Linked DNA regions of Homo sapiens: region 2 is linked to region 1. The links are contacts of gene promoters, found by promoter capture Hi-C in blood cells and fetal thymus (Javierre and others, 2016). All regions are on one chromosome and are shown on one strand. The core of a region is centred on a gene start or on the middle of the fragment in contact, and the rest is flanking DNA. Distances in the headings are between cores, read along the strand shown. Region 1 holds the start of TMEM248 (transmembrane protein 248). Region 2 overlaps LINC03006 (long intergenic non-protein coding RNA 3006).

What was found. Contacts are between HindIII fragments. The CHiCAGO score rates a contact against its expected background, and 5 or more counts as called.
Region 2: a fragment that was not itself captured here is called in contact with the fragment with the promoter of TMEM248 in region 1 in 4 of 17 cell types (fetal thymus, naive CD8 T cells, non-activated CD4 T cells and 1 more); the score reaches 7.2 in fetal thymus.

What each region holds. Positions count from the first base shown.
Region 1 is chr7:66,918,257-66,924,230 of GRCh38, forward strand. It overlaps TMEM248 (transmembrane protein 248), which reads left to right and starts at 2,969. Exons shown (of 7, transcript NM_017994.5): 1 at 2,969-3,205. RefSeq lists a silencer at 3,011-3,260. The HindIII fragment of the contact is 775 bases long and covers 2,882-3,656 here.
Region 2 is chr7:65,749,893-65,755,812 of GRCh38, forward strand. The region is part of intron 2 of LINC03006 (long intergenic non-protein coding RNA 3006); the gene reads right to left. SNORA22 (small nucleolar RNA, H/ACA box 22) reads left to right here and starts at 5,634; the gene lies at 5,634-5,767. It also overlaps the pseudogene CCT6P1. RefSeq lists enhancers at 585-694, 725-994, 1,355-1,424 and a silencer at 1,015-1,234. The HindIII fragment of the contact is 2,092 bases long and covers 2,298-4,389 here.

The DNA of each region.
Region 1 (5,974 bases), core at 1,719-4,218:
AAGGCTGGTCTCAAACTCCTGACCTCAAGTGATCCACCCACCTTGGGCTCCCAAAGTGCTGGGATTAAAGGCGTGAGCCACCACATGTGGCCAGTAACTTTTTATTTTTTTAAATAAAGCCATATGTCTTAGAACTTGTTCATTTATTTATGAGATGGGGTTTGCTATGTTTTCCAGAATGGTTTTTTTTTTTTTTTTTTTTAGACAGTCTCACTCTGTTGCCCAGGCTGGAGGGCAGTGGCGCAATCTCAGCTCACTGCAACCTCTGCCTCCCAGGTTCAAGTGATTCTCCTGCCTCAGCCTCCTGAGTAGCTGGGATTACAGGTGCCCACCACCATGCCCAGCTAATTTTTTTATTTTTATTTTTTAGTAGAGACAGGGTTTTACCATGTTGGCCAGGCTGGTCTTGAACTCCTGGGCTCAAGCGATCCTCCTGCCTCAGCCTCCCACTGTTGGGACTACAGGCGTGAGCCAACACACCTGGCTTCAAATGATAACTCTATGTTAAACTTTTTGAGAAATTGCCAGATTGTTGTTTAAAAGTGGCTGCACCATGTAATCTTTTTTTAAAAAAAGAATTTTACAATCCAGCTGGACATGGTAGCTCACACGTATAATCCCAGCTCTTTGGGAAGCTGAGTAAGGAGGATTGCTTAAGGCCAGAAGCTCAAAACCAGCTTGGGCAACACAGTGAGACCTTGTCTCTATTTAAAAAGGTTTCTTTTTTTTTTTTTTTTTTTTTACTGGACTCGGGCTCACACCTGTAATCCCAACAGTTTGGGAGGCCAAGGTGGGCAGATCACTTGAGGCCAGGAGTTCGTGACCAGCCTGACCAACATGGCAAAACACCTTCTCTACTAAAAATACAAAAATTAGCGGGGCGTGGTGGCATGCGCCTGTAATCCCAGCTACTCAGGAGGCTGAGGCAGGAGAATCGCTTGAACCCAGGAGGCAGAGGTTGCAGTGAGCCAAGATCGTGCCACTGCACTCCAGCCTGGGCGACAGAGCGAGACTCCATCTCAAAACAAAAACAAAAATTTTTTTTGAAATCCCATACAAGGCAGCTAGGATGAAAGGTTTGAGGTTGCCTTTTTTACATTCTCCTACGGTCTCAATCACTAAGTCATATATGGTGCCATTGGTGGTGGGGCTCCTTTAATTACATTATCAGTCCTAGCCTGGTAAGGGACATCTCATTAGGAAGTTTGGTTCCATCATTATATACACAATTCAATACTGCCTGCACTTGCAGATAATGTCACACCCATTACAACAAGGAAGATAATTCAAATGGTGCAAGATAACAAAAGAGGGCAAGAATCATGGAAATAAGAGGGTATTCAGTGAAGGAACTGAGCCATTGTGTTGAACATTACAGGCTTCACCTGATAAACTTTTGTTAAAGATGGCTGGGTGTGGTGGCTCATGCCTGTAATCCCAGCACTTTGGGAGGTGGAAGTGAGCGGATCACTTGAGCCCAGGAGTTTGAGACCAGCCTGAGCAATTTGGGGGAAACCCCATTTCTGTGAAAAATATGAAAATTAGCTGGGCACGATGGTGCACATCTGTGGTCCCAGCTACTCAGGAGGCTGAGACAGGAGGATCACTTCAGCTTGGGAGGCCGAGTCTGCAGTGAGCCATGATCATGCGACTGCACTCCAGCTTGGGTGACAGAGCAAGACCTTGTCTCAAAAGCAAGAACAACAAAACTTTATTACCTTTAAAGCACCCTGTACTCCTCCCCCATCCCATTCCCCTAACACTTAACATGAAGTTTATACATCTTTTTCTCATGCTTCATGTCAGTTCAAACAATTATGTATGCATCTCTAAACAATATGTTATGAACTTGCCTGTTTTGAATTTTACATAATGGAAATATGTAGCAGTGTACCATTTTGTGATTTGGTCCCTGCCAATATAGTCTGCAATTGACTACCATAATTGTGTGAGCTGTATTAAATAATTTTCACTGGTCTTTTGTACCCGATTAAACACGAAGATGGGCCAGGCGTGGCAGCTCACACCTGTAATCCCAGATCCTCCCGAGGTGGGAGGATCACTTGGGTCCAGTAGTTCGAGACCAGCTTGAGTAACATAGGGAGACCCTGTCTCTACAAAAACAAACCAAACCATGAATATATCAAAGTTGGTTTTTACATTTGACTGTATGGACATCTGCTTTTTCTCCCCAATTTTTAGTGAGTCATACTGCTGCTAAAAACATTGGTGTTGCTATGAGCATTATTTTGTCTACTTGTGCATAGGTGCAACTGTTTCTCCAGGGTAATATATTCTCAAGAGAGGATGTGTATATCTTTAAGTGTACTGCATAATGCCAAATTACTTTGCAAAGTGATTGTACAAAATTATACTTTAAAAATTTTCATTTTCATTTTATTTTATTTATAAATAGAGTCAGAGACTCCCTATGTTACCCAGGCTGGTCTGGAACTCCAGGACTCAAGCGATCCTCCTGCCTTGGCCTCCCAAAGTGCTGAGATTACAGGCCTGAGCCACCGCGCCTGGTCCAAAATTACATGTTTATCAGCAGTGATTAATATACAAGCACATCAACAGACACACGCATAGCACACACATGAGCATGCACACGTGTGCGCACTCCCTACACATCTACGCATGCACACACCCATACCATCACACACCACACACGCGCACACAGATGCACATACATGCACTCACTGCACACACCGTTGTACACGATGCACACTACAAGCCACATACACGCACTACGCACACACGCACACGCACAACACCAGACCGGCACACAGACCCATAAACGTCCATCACGCACTCCACGCACGTCCGCATGCACGCTACCCGTCCCGGAAGCGTGGTCTCCGCCGCCTGCCTCTGACGAAGCTTGTCCCGGCCGCGCCACCGTCGGACGCCCGGGGTCGGAGGTCACGGCGGCGTTGGAGGTGGCGTGGTTTTTTTTTTTTTTTTCACCCGGAAACCGCGGTTGCCGGAGCCCGAACTGAGGCGGCGGCGGGAGCCCGGTTGGCGTCTGGTCTTCGCGTCGGCCCCGCGGAGCCAGACGCTGCCCCCGGCGCGGGGAGAAGATGGTGCCTAGCGGCCTCGGGCCCGCCACGCGCCGCCACGAGTGAGCCCAGCGCGACCGCGGGCGTCCGCCGAGCAGCTGGCCCGGCTGGGCCCGGGGCGCGCAGCTGCCCGCCGGGGCGGGGTGAGCCGGGGCTGGAGGGCGGGCTGGGGTCGGGCCCAGTCGGGGCTGCCCGCGGGGCCGGGAGCGGGGAGCGTGCTGGTCGGGAGCGGCTCCTCCGCCGGCTTTTTTCACCGCTTCTCAGGGTGCAGACCCCGCCCCAACTGCTGGCGGGGGTCGCCCAGCATCGGCCGACCTCGGCCTGGTCCCCCCACACTGGGGTTTGCCCACTCGCGTCCCCCGAGCCAGGGTTCCCTGCCGGCCTTGGAGATGGCGGGACTTCCCACGTCTGGAGCCGAGGCCTGGATAATTCGGATTTGGCACGGGAAACATCTTGGTCGTTTGCCATTTTTCGGCTTTGGGGAGTGTTTGCGTTTCTTCTCCGTTTGGCAGTGAAACACATCTCAGAAAGGTGGGAGGGAGAGACTCACGTACGTCCACAAAGTTAAATGGCATAGTGGTGTTCCCTGTGTCAAGCTTGGTAAATATCCGGAATGGGGTGGATTCTTTCTTCATGTTTTTAATAAAATGAGGAGTGATCGCAAGGTAATCTAGAGGCATGTAGTTTCAGTTCCCTTGATGGGGACCATCAGAAATAAAACCAGGCTTGTTGTGCTGTTTTGAGTCGTTTGAACGCCGTACCCATCGGACAGCTGGTGAGGAGGCCTTTGTGGAAGAATCTGATGTCTGAGTTTAGTTCTCAACTAGCAGGTGACAGCCCTCACTGGCTGATGAATGGTGAGCTTCTCTGAAGCCTGCTTTGTAAAGATTGTGGCTTCCGCCTGAACTGCTTCTTTCCTGCCTCAAAGGTGAGCCGCTACGGGAGGGAATGGGAAGAAAAACTCCGAGACTGCTGATGAATATGTGATAAAGTGGTTTGTCTCGATAGCACCATCAGCTTGGGTCAGCTTAGGGTCTCAGCATGTGTATCTCATTTGTAGATGAGTGTTCCATCAGCGCTTGACCGATAAGGGTGTCCATCTACTTCCTCTTTTCATCTAGGGATTCTGACAGGAAATAGACCTGTCGCGCACCTAAGGTATACTTAGGTGTGCATTGACCCTAAGTGCATTTACTCTCTAGGATTAAGGATTTGGAGTTTCAACTTGTAGTGAAGATTCTGGGAGAATTCCTGTGGCCTGAATCAGGTGGACTGGAATCACTGCTAGCACCGGAGTCTCAATGCTAAAATCACCAAAGGCTAGTTAACTGGCACCTTCTCCGTTTAGGCTCTAGCTGCATCTGTGGCAAGGAGGAAAGGTAGATTATATATATATATGTTTTTGAGACAGAGTCTCACTCTTGTCGCCCAGGCTGGAGTGCAGTGGTGCGATCTCTGCTCACTGCAACCTCTGCCTCCCAGGTCCAAGCAATCCTCCTGCCTCAGCCTCCCTAGTAGCTGGGATTACAGGTGCCCGCCACCATGCCCAGCTAATTTTTGTATTTTTAGTAGAGACAAGGTTTCACCATGTTGGCCAGGCTGGTCTTGAACTCCTGACCTCAGGTGATCCATCCTCCTCGGCCTCCCAAAGTTCTGGAATTATAGGCGTGAACCACCCGCACCTGGCATAAGTGCGAATATATTAATAGTTTCTGCCTGTAAGGAATGTACTTAGAGGAAGCAATAGGCTAGAAAATGTGGCAGGACTGAATTGCCATAGTGGTATACCAACTGTTCAGGATTTTGTTATGGTTAGGATCAGAAACTAACTTTTTTTTTTTTCTTGAGGCGGAGTCTTGCTCTGTTGCCTAGGCTGGAGTGCAGTGGCGCGAAGTTAGCTCACTGCAACCTCTGCCTCTCAGGTTCAAGCGATTTTTCTGCCTCAGCTGCCTGAGTAGCTGGGATTACAGTTGCCTGCCACCACGCCTGGCTAATTTTTGTATTTTTGGTAGAGACGAGGTTTCATGTTGTTGGCCAGGCCTTGAACTCCTGACCTCAGGTGATCTGCCCACCTTGGCCTCCCAAAGTGCTGGAAGTATAGGTGTGAGCCACCTTGCTCAGCCCGAAACTCGTGAAGTAAACTTTGAGGTGGACCTAGAAAGATCAAGAGGATTTGGGCCATTCAGAATTAGCTGGGAAATGAAAAAACTAGGGCCAGTTGGTGGACAAGCACCCAGGCTAGGTAGCTGGACAATCAGTGCCTAGAAATATTGGCAGAGGCAGCTAGTTAAGGGTTAAATGCTTTTCTAAGAAAGATAAGCATAAGCTACCCAGTCTAGTTTCTCGTAGATTTCTGGGTTTTTTTGTTTTTGTTTTCTTTGAGATGGAGTCTTGCTCTGTTGCCCAGGTTGGAGTGCAGTGACGCAGTCGGCAACCTCTGCCTTCTGGGTTCAAGCGATTCCTCAGCCTCCTGAGTAGCTGGGACTACAGGTGCATGCCGCCACACCCAGCTAATTTGTGTATTTTTAATGGAGACAGGGTTTCACCATGTTGGCCAGGCTGGTCTCAAACCCTTGACGTCAAGTGATCCGCCTGCCTCAGCCTCCCAATGTGCTGGGATTACAGGCGTGAGCCACCAGGCCTGGCCTTTGGTTTCTAAAGAATTGTTTTCATTTAATGAGTTTGTCTTGTTCTGTAAGAGGCCGTTGGCATAAAACAATGCTTAACTTATTTTATTAAGGACAATGAAAAAGATGCTGATTGTCATTCCTGTCTGGTATTGACAATCAGGAAATTAAATTTGATGTCTGTGAGTTGTTTCAGTGCCTGTGTTCAGTTTGCAGGAGCACAGCTCTAGTCTGGTCTCTGCAGCTCTGGCTACAGCCAAAGGATAAATGGCAAGCCCTTCAGTC
Region 2 (5,920 bases), core at 2,094-4,593, 1.2 Mb before region 1:
TGGCACACTCTCCAAGACATTTAAAGTATAACACACCCTACAGTGTGTATTAGGAATTGCCATTTGTGTGGGGAAATGATTATATTTACATATAAGTTTATAAATTCAGAAAGCATTCCGAAAATTCATCGAGTATCCGGGGTAACTGTGCTTGTCTCTAGTGTTGAACTAGTGGCGGGAGGAAGATTTAATTTCCACCACATGCCCTTTGGTGCCTTTTGAATTCAGAACAATTTCCGTTATCTATTAAAAATAAAATACTGGCCGGGCACGGTGGCTCATGCCTGTAATCCCAGCACTTTGGGAGGCCGAGACGGGAGGATCACTTGAGCTCAGCAGTATCACTTGAGCTCAGGAATTTGAGACCACCCTGGGCAACATGGTGAGGCCGTGTGTCTATAAAAAGAAAAAATGAAGTAAAATATCACGTGTAACTGAATCCCTGGAATTTGGCGGGCACCGGATACTGTAAACAATTGTGGAGCTCTTTGGAAATTTACCTTAAAAGGGAGTCCTCTCAAAGGCTGGACACCATCACTCTACAAGGGTGAGTTTTCAAATCTACCATAGAAGCCTAGGGCCTCAGCAGCATCCTGAGTCCTAATGACGGACAGGTTATGACTCAACTCCCATCGCACCAGTCCTGCAGCTTTCTAAAGGCATCCAGCACTTTCTACCTTGCATTCTATCTTCATCTTCGTTAGTCCTTACAGCACCGCATGATTCCGGCGGAGGGTGCTTATCAGACTAGCCTGTGTGTCCCCACGGCACCTACAGCACCGTCAAGCACAGGGTCCAGAAAGCTCCAATGAAAGTCGTGAAAGCAGCAAGGGAAGGAGACTGAGGAGCAAACCGCGCGAGTAGGGGCAGGAGGAGGCCCACCCTACGCCCTGTCCGGCGCGGGGCATAAGCCCTGCCTGCATCCTGAGATCCCGGGTCCGCAAACTTGGGCCCCACTGAGCAGCAACGCCAGAACCCAGAAGCACTTACTGCCAGGAACAGGGTACTCCAGTGCGCCATAGCGTCGCGGCCGCTGGGCGAGGGGTGGGACTGCAGGCACCGTGCAGCCGCGGACCAATGAGCGGGGGCCGGACAGCCCGTGGCCCAATAGCGGCGGCGCGGGCACGCTAGGGGCGGGCTGGGCGCGCCGACTTTTCCGGAAGATCCGGATAGTGCATCCCGGCCACGGCGCGCCTGCTCTGGGCTCTCCGCGTGCCGCGTCGCTTTCTTTTCTTCCTCTGGAGCAGTTATGGCGGCGGCGAAGACCCTGAACCCCAAGGCCAAGGTGGCCGGAGCGCAGGCGGCGCTGGCGTTCAACATTAGCGGGGCGCGGGGTCTGCAGGACGTGCTGAGGACCAACCTGGGGCCCAAAGGGACCATAAAGATGTAAGGTGGGGCTGGCGGGAGGGCTGGGTGGGCACCGCGCGCCGCTGCGCACCTGGCGGGCCCAAGACCGCAGATGGGAGCCCGCTGCCTCGGGGCTCCGCAGCCACCCTTCCTCGCGTCCTCCCGGGCCGGTCCTGTTCCCTGCTAAGCCCCACCGTTGCGTCCATTTCTTCCTGCGTCGATGCCGTCTCCATGGAGAAAAAAGCGGCTCTAGTGTGCGGCGTTCCCCGCCTTCTTGGGCTTCCAGACACCCTGAGGACTCTGCACAATCTCTGCGGGGACGGGGTGGGCACTACACTTGTCCTCCAGCCTGCGGGAGATAACTAGCTCCATATTCTCGGCTCCCTAAGATCGGGGAAAAGCCCGTTTTCTAATGGGACTTTTTAATTTAGTTTTCGTTGATAACTAGCTCCATATCCCTGGCTCCCTGAGATCTGGGAAAAGTCCTTTTTTGTTGTTTGTTTTGGTTTTTTGTTGTTTTTTTTTTTGAGACAGAGTCTCGCTCTGTCACCCAGGCTAGAGTGCAGTGGCGCGATCTCGGCTCACTGCAAGCTCCGCCTCCCGGGTTCATGTCTTTCTCCTGCCTCAGTCTCACGAGTAGCTGGGACTACAGGCGCCCGTCACCACGCCCAGCTTGCTTTATTTATTTATTTATTTATTTATTTTGTATTTTTAGTAGAGATGGGGTTTCACCGTGTTAGCCAGGATGGTCTCGATATCCTGACCTCGAGATCCACCCGCCTCGGCCTCCCAAAGTGCTGGGATTACAGGCGTGAGCCACCGCACCCGGCTGGAAAAGCCCATTTTCTAATGGGACTTTTTAATTTAGTTTTCGTTTTAATTTCGTTTTTGTCACAATTTGATTGATTTCTGTCCCTTAAACAGTCTTGTTTCTGGCGCTGGAGACATCAAGCTTACTAAAGACACAGGAGTTGACGATCAGCCCTGGCCAACATGGTGAAACTCAGTCTCTACTAAAAATACAAAAATTAGCCGGGCACGGTCCTGCACAGTGCGCTGCTTCACGAAATGGTGAGAGGTGCTCTGCTAGGTCAGAAATGTCTTGATTTTCCGTAGAACTTTTGCTTTGTAGAAAGATTTGCAATGTCCATTCTCAAGGTAGGAGAACATTCAGAAGTGACATGTAACAGTGACAGTAATAGTACTGACTGTGCCTGGAGTCTGACAGCCCTGTCTTTGAATCCCTGCTTTTTTGCCATTCACAGTCTGGGCTAAAGGACTGTAATTGTACATTAATTATAATAAAATTTGAAAAATTAAGGGTGGTTGACACAATCACATGGGCAAAATGCATGAGGATGGTTTTTCTCTTTATGGGTTTTTTTTTTTTTTTTTTTTAAGACAGAATCTCACTCTGTCGCCCAGCCTGGAGTCCAGTGGTTCACTGCAACCTCCGCCTCCTGGGTTCAAGTGATTCTCCTGTCTCAGCCTCCCAAGTAGCTGGGATTACAGGCTTGCTCCACCATGCCCAGCTAATTTTTGTATTTTTTGTAGAGATGGTATTTCACCATGTTGGCCAGGCCGGTCTTGAACTCATGACTTCAGGTGATCCGCCTGAGTCAGCCTCCCAAAGTGCTGGGATTACCAGGCGTGAGCCACAGCATCTGGCCGGTTTTTCTCTTTTTAAAACAGCAATTTCTCTGTTATGTCTCATCTCCATCTCCAACTGGAGGGGAGAGAAATCTCTTTGCTTTAACATTTTTAAAGTCTTAGGGATGGAGAATATGAGATTATTGAAGGGAGTATGCGTTTTACTCATCCCTAAATTCCCAAAACTTAACAGTTCAAATCCAAGAAAGGGAAATGATTTCCTGCTGATTTGAGTTCAGAATAATCAGGGTTTTGCTAGTAGTATACCATGCTATCAACATCCAGATGAAATATCTTTAATAAAGACTTGCTAATCTAGGAGGTGTTTTTGTTTTTACTGGGTTCAGTGGTGGCTCGTGTTAGCAGAAAAGTGGAGCCACGGTTAAACTTGACGTCAGAATTGTTTTGGGGCCGGGTGCAGTGGCTCATTCTTGTAATCTCAGCACTTTGGAAGGCCGAGGTAGGTGGATCACTTGAGGCCAGGAGTTCACGATCAGCCCTGGCCAACATGGTGAAACTCCGTCTCTACTGAAAATACAAAAATTAGCCAGGCATGGTTCTGTACGCCTGTAGTCCCAGCTACTCCAGAGGCTGAGGCAGGAGAATCGATTGCTTGAACCTGGGAGGCTGAGGTTTCAGTGAGCCAAGATTGTGCCACTGCACTCTCCAGCCTAGGTGACAGAGTGAGACTGTCACCAAAAAAAAAAAAAAATTTATTTGGGTTTTAGTGTGTGAGAAATACAGCATAAGTAGAGAGAAGCACGTAGAACATTTACAATTTAGGAAATAATTATAAAGTGGACACACACAACCACTATTGTAGTTAAGAAATAAATTGTTGCTACCACCTCAGAAGTCCCCTCCCACTGGAACTTCTCTCCAATCTCCAGAAGTCTGTTTTTCAGTTTTCTTTGAAAAAATTACAAACCTACGAAAATAATGATTATATTGTGTGTGCCCTTTACCTAGATTCACCAATTGTTTACATGTTGCTCCATTTCTTTTCTATTTTTCCTCTGAATCATTTGAAGGTAAGCTGCAGACATGTCATTTTACCTTTAAAATACAATTTTTTTCCGCTTTTTTTTTTTTTTAAGAGATAGGATTTTGCCATGTAGCCCAGGCTGGTTTCGAATTCCTGAGTTCAAGGGATCCATCTGCTGTGGCCTCCCAAAGTGCTGGGATTACAGGCATGAGCTAACGCACCTGACCTTTCCTTTTAAATTACTTGGCCATTGCAGAGTAACAGTGGAGGCTGCTGAGCTTTCATTTTAGGAGATACCTGGCTTATTCTCGTAGAGCCCTACACTTGCCTAAAGAGGCAAGGATGTAAAATTATCCGTTACTGTTAACTGTTAGCTGTCATCTTGCGTAAACTTTCACTGAGCCTCAAGCTTCCTCATCTGTAAAGTAGAGATAACCTGGGAAATAAATTACACATGAAAATGTTTCCATCATTATAATTGCATGCGCATGATAGCAAATTGTGACTTTTTAATCTTAGTAATTTGTAGCCAAACACTTGGGTAGCTTTTTCAAGTAGATAGTACTTAAAGAGGCCCTTCATGCATTTTATTTGTGGTATTTTTAGACTGTTTCATATTGTTTTAAGTGATTCGTTCTTTTTCTACTTTCAGCAAATTCAACACCCAACAGCTTCCTTAATAGCAAAGGTAGCAACAGCCCAGGATGATATAACTGGTGATGGTACGACTTCCAATGTCCTAATCATTGGAGAGCTGCTGAAACAGGCAGATCTCTACATTTCTGAAGTATGCACAACTTTTTTTTGTTTTGTTTTTTTGAGATGGGATTTCACTCTTGTTGCCCAGGCTGGGGTGCAATGGCATCTCGGCTCACTGCAACGTCTGTCTCCTGGGTTCAAGCAATTCCCAGCCTCAGCCTCCTCAGTAGCTAGGATTACAGGCATGCGCCACCACGCCCGGCTAATTTTGTATTTGTCGCAGAGACGGGGTTTCTCCACGTTGGTCAGGCTGGTCTCCAACTCCTGACCTCAGGTGATCCACCCATCTTGGCCTCCCAAAGTGCTAGGATTAAAGGCGTGAGCCACCGCGCCCGGCACACAACTCTTGTTTCTGTAATATATTATTGTATATAGGACGTGTCAGATACTTATTTATACAAATTGATGTGTTAATACTAGCGGAGGCCATACAGTAGGATTAGGGGGCTTAAATCTGGGTCTTTGTCTTGGTCTAAAACAAATTTGTTGTGAGCTTGGACAGGTTATGGAACCTTTTTTGGCCTGAAAATAATTTTGTAATCAAGTTGAATTGCCTATGTGATTTGTATCTGTCTTTAGATTAATAATTGAGATTTTAAAATGGGATGTTTAGGACTAGGCATATTTATTTGTTAGGAAAGAGACAACCAAAAGCTTACATTTAGATAAATTCCACTTTTTTAGCCCTGACTAGTTCCAAGGTTTAAAACAAACCTCAGTGACTACGAATCTATTGTCAGAATTTTCGGGTAAAAGAGAGCAGATAGTCTTTATTTATTTTTATTAGTAAATGATGGAATTAGTTTGAGATTACCTATAGAAAAGATAGAATAATGCTACCATCTGTGAGTTGTTGGGACACAGTGTCGGTTTTGACATGATTCGGAGTGGTTTGCACAGTGAACACCCAAGTGTGCTTTATAGTTCCCTTGGCTTTGACCCTGTGCTAGAGCATTGCCTGCTCTTCTCCTCTGCATTAAAAGGAATATTTATCCTTTTAAATGTATTCAGAAAGCCAGCACATTATATTACCTCGTGTTCAAAGATAGGATGATCAGAGTATCCCTCCAAGAATTGTCTGAACTTTATCATGAACTATAGTTGCACCTAATTGAAGATGCAAGTGTTATTGTGTGTTTATTGTAGGGCCTTCATCCCAGAATAATCACTGAAGGATTT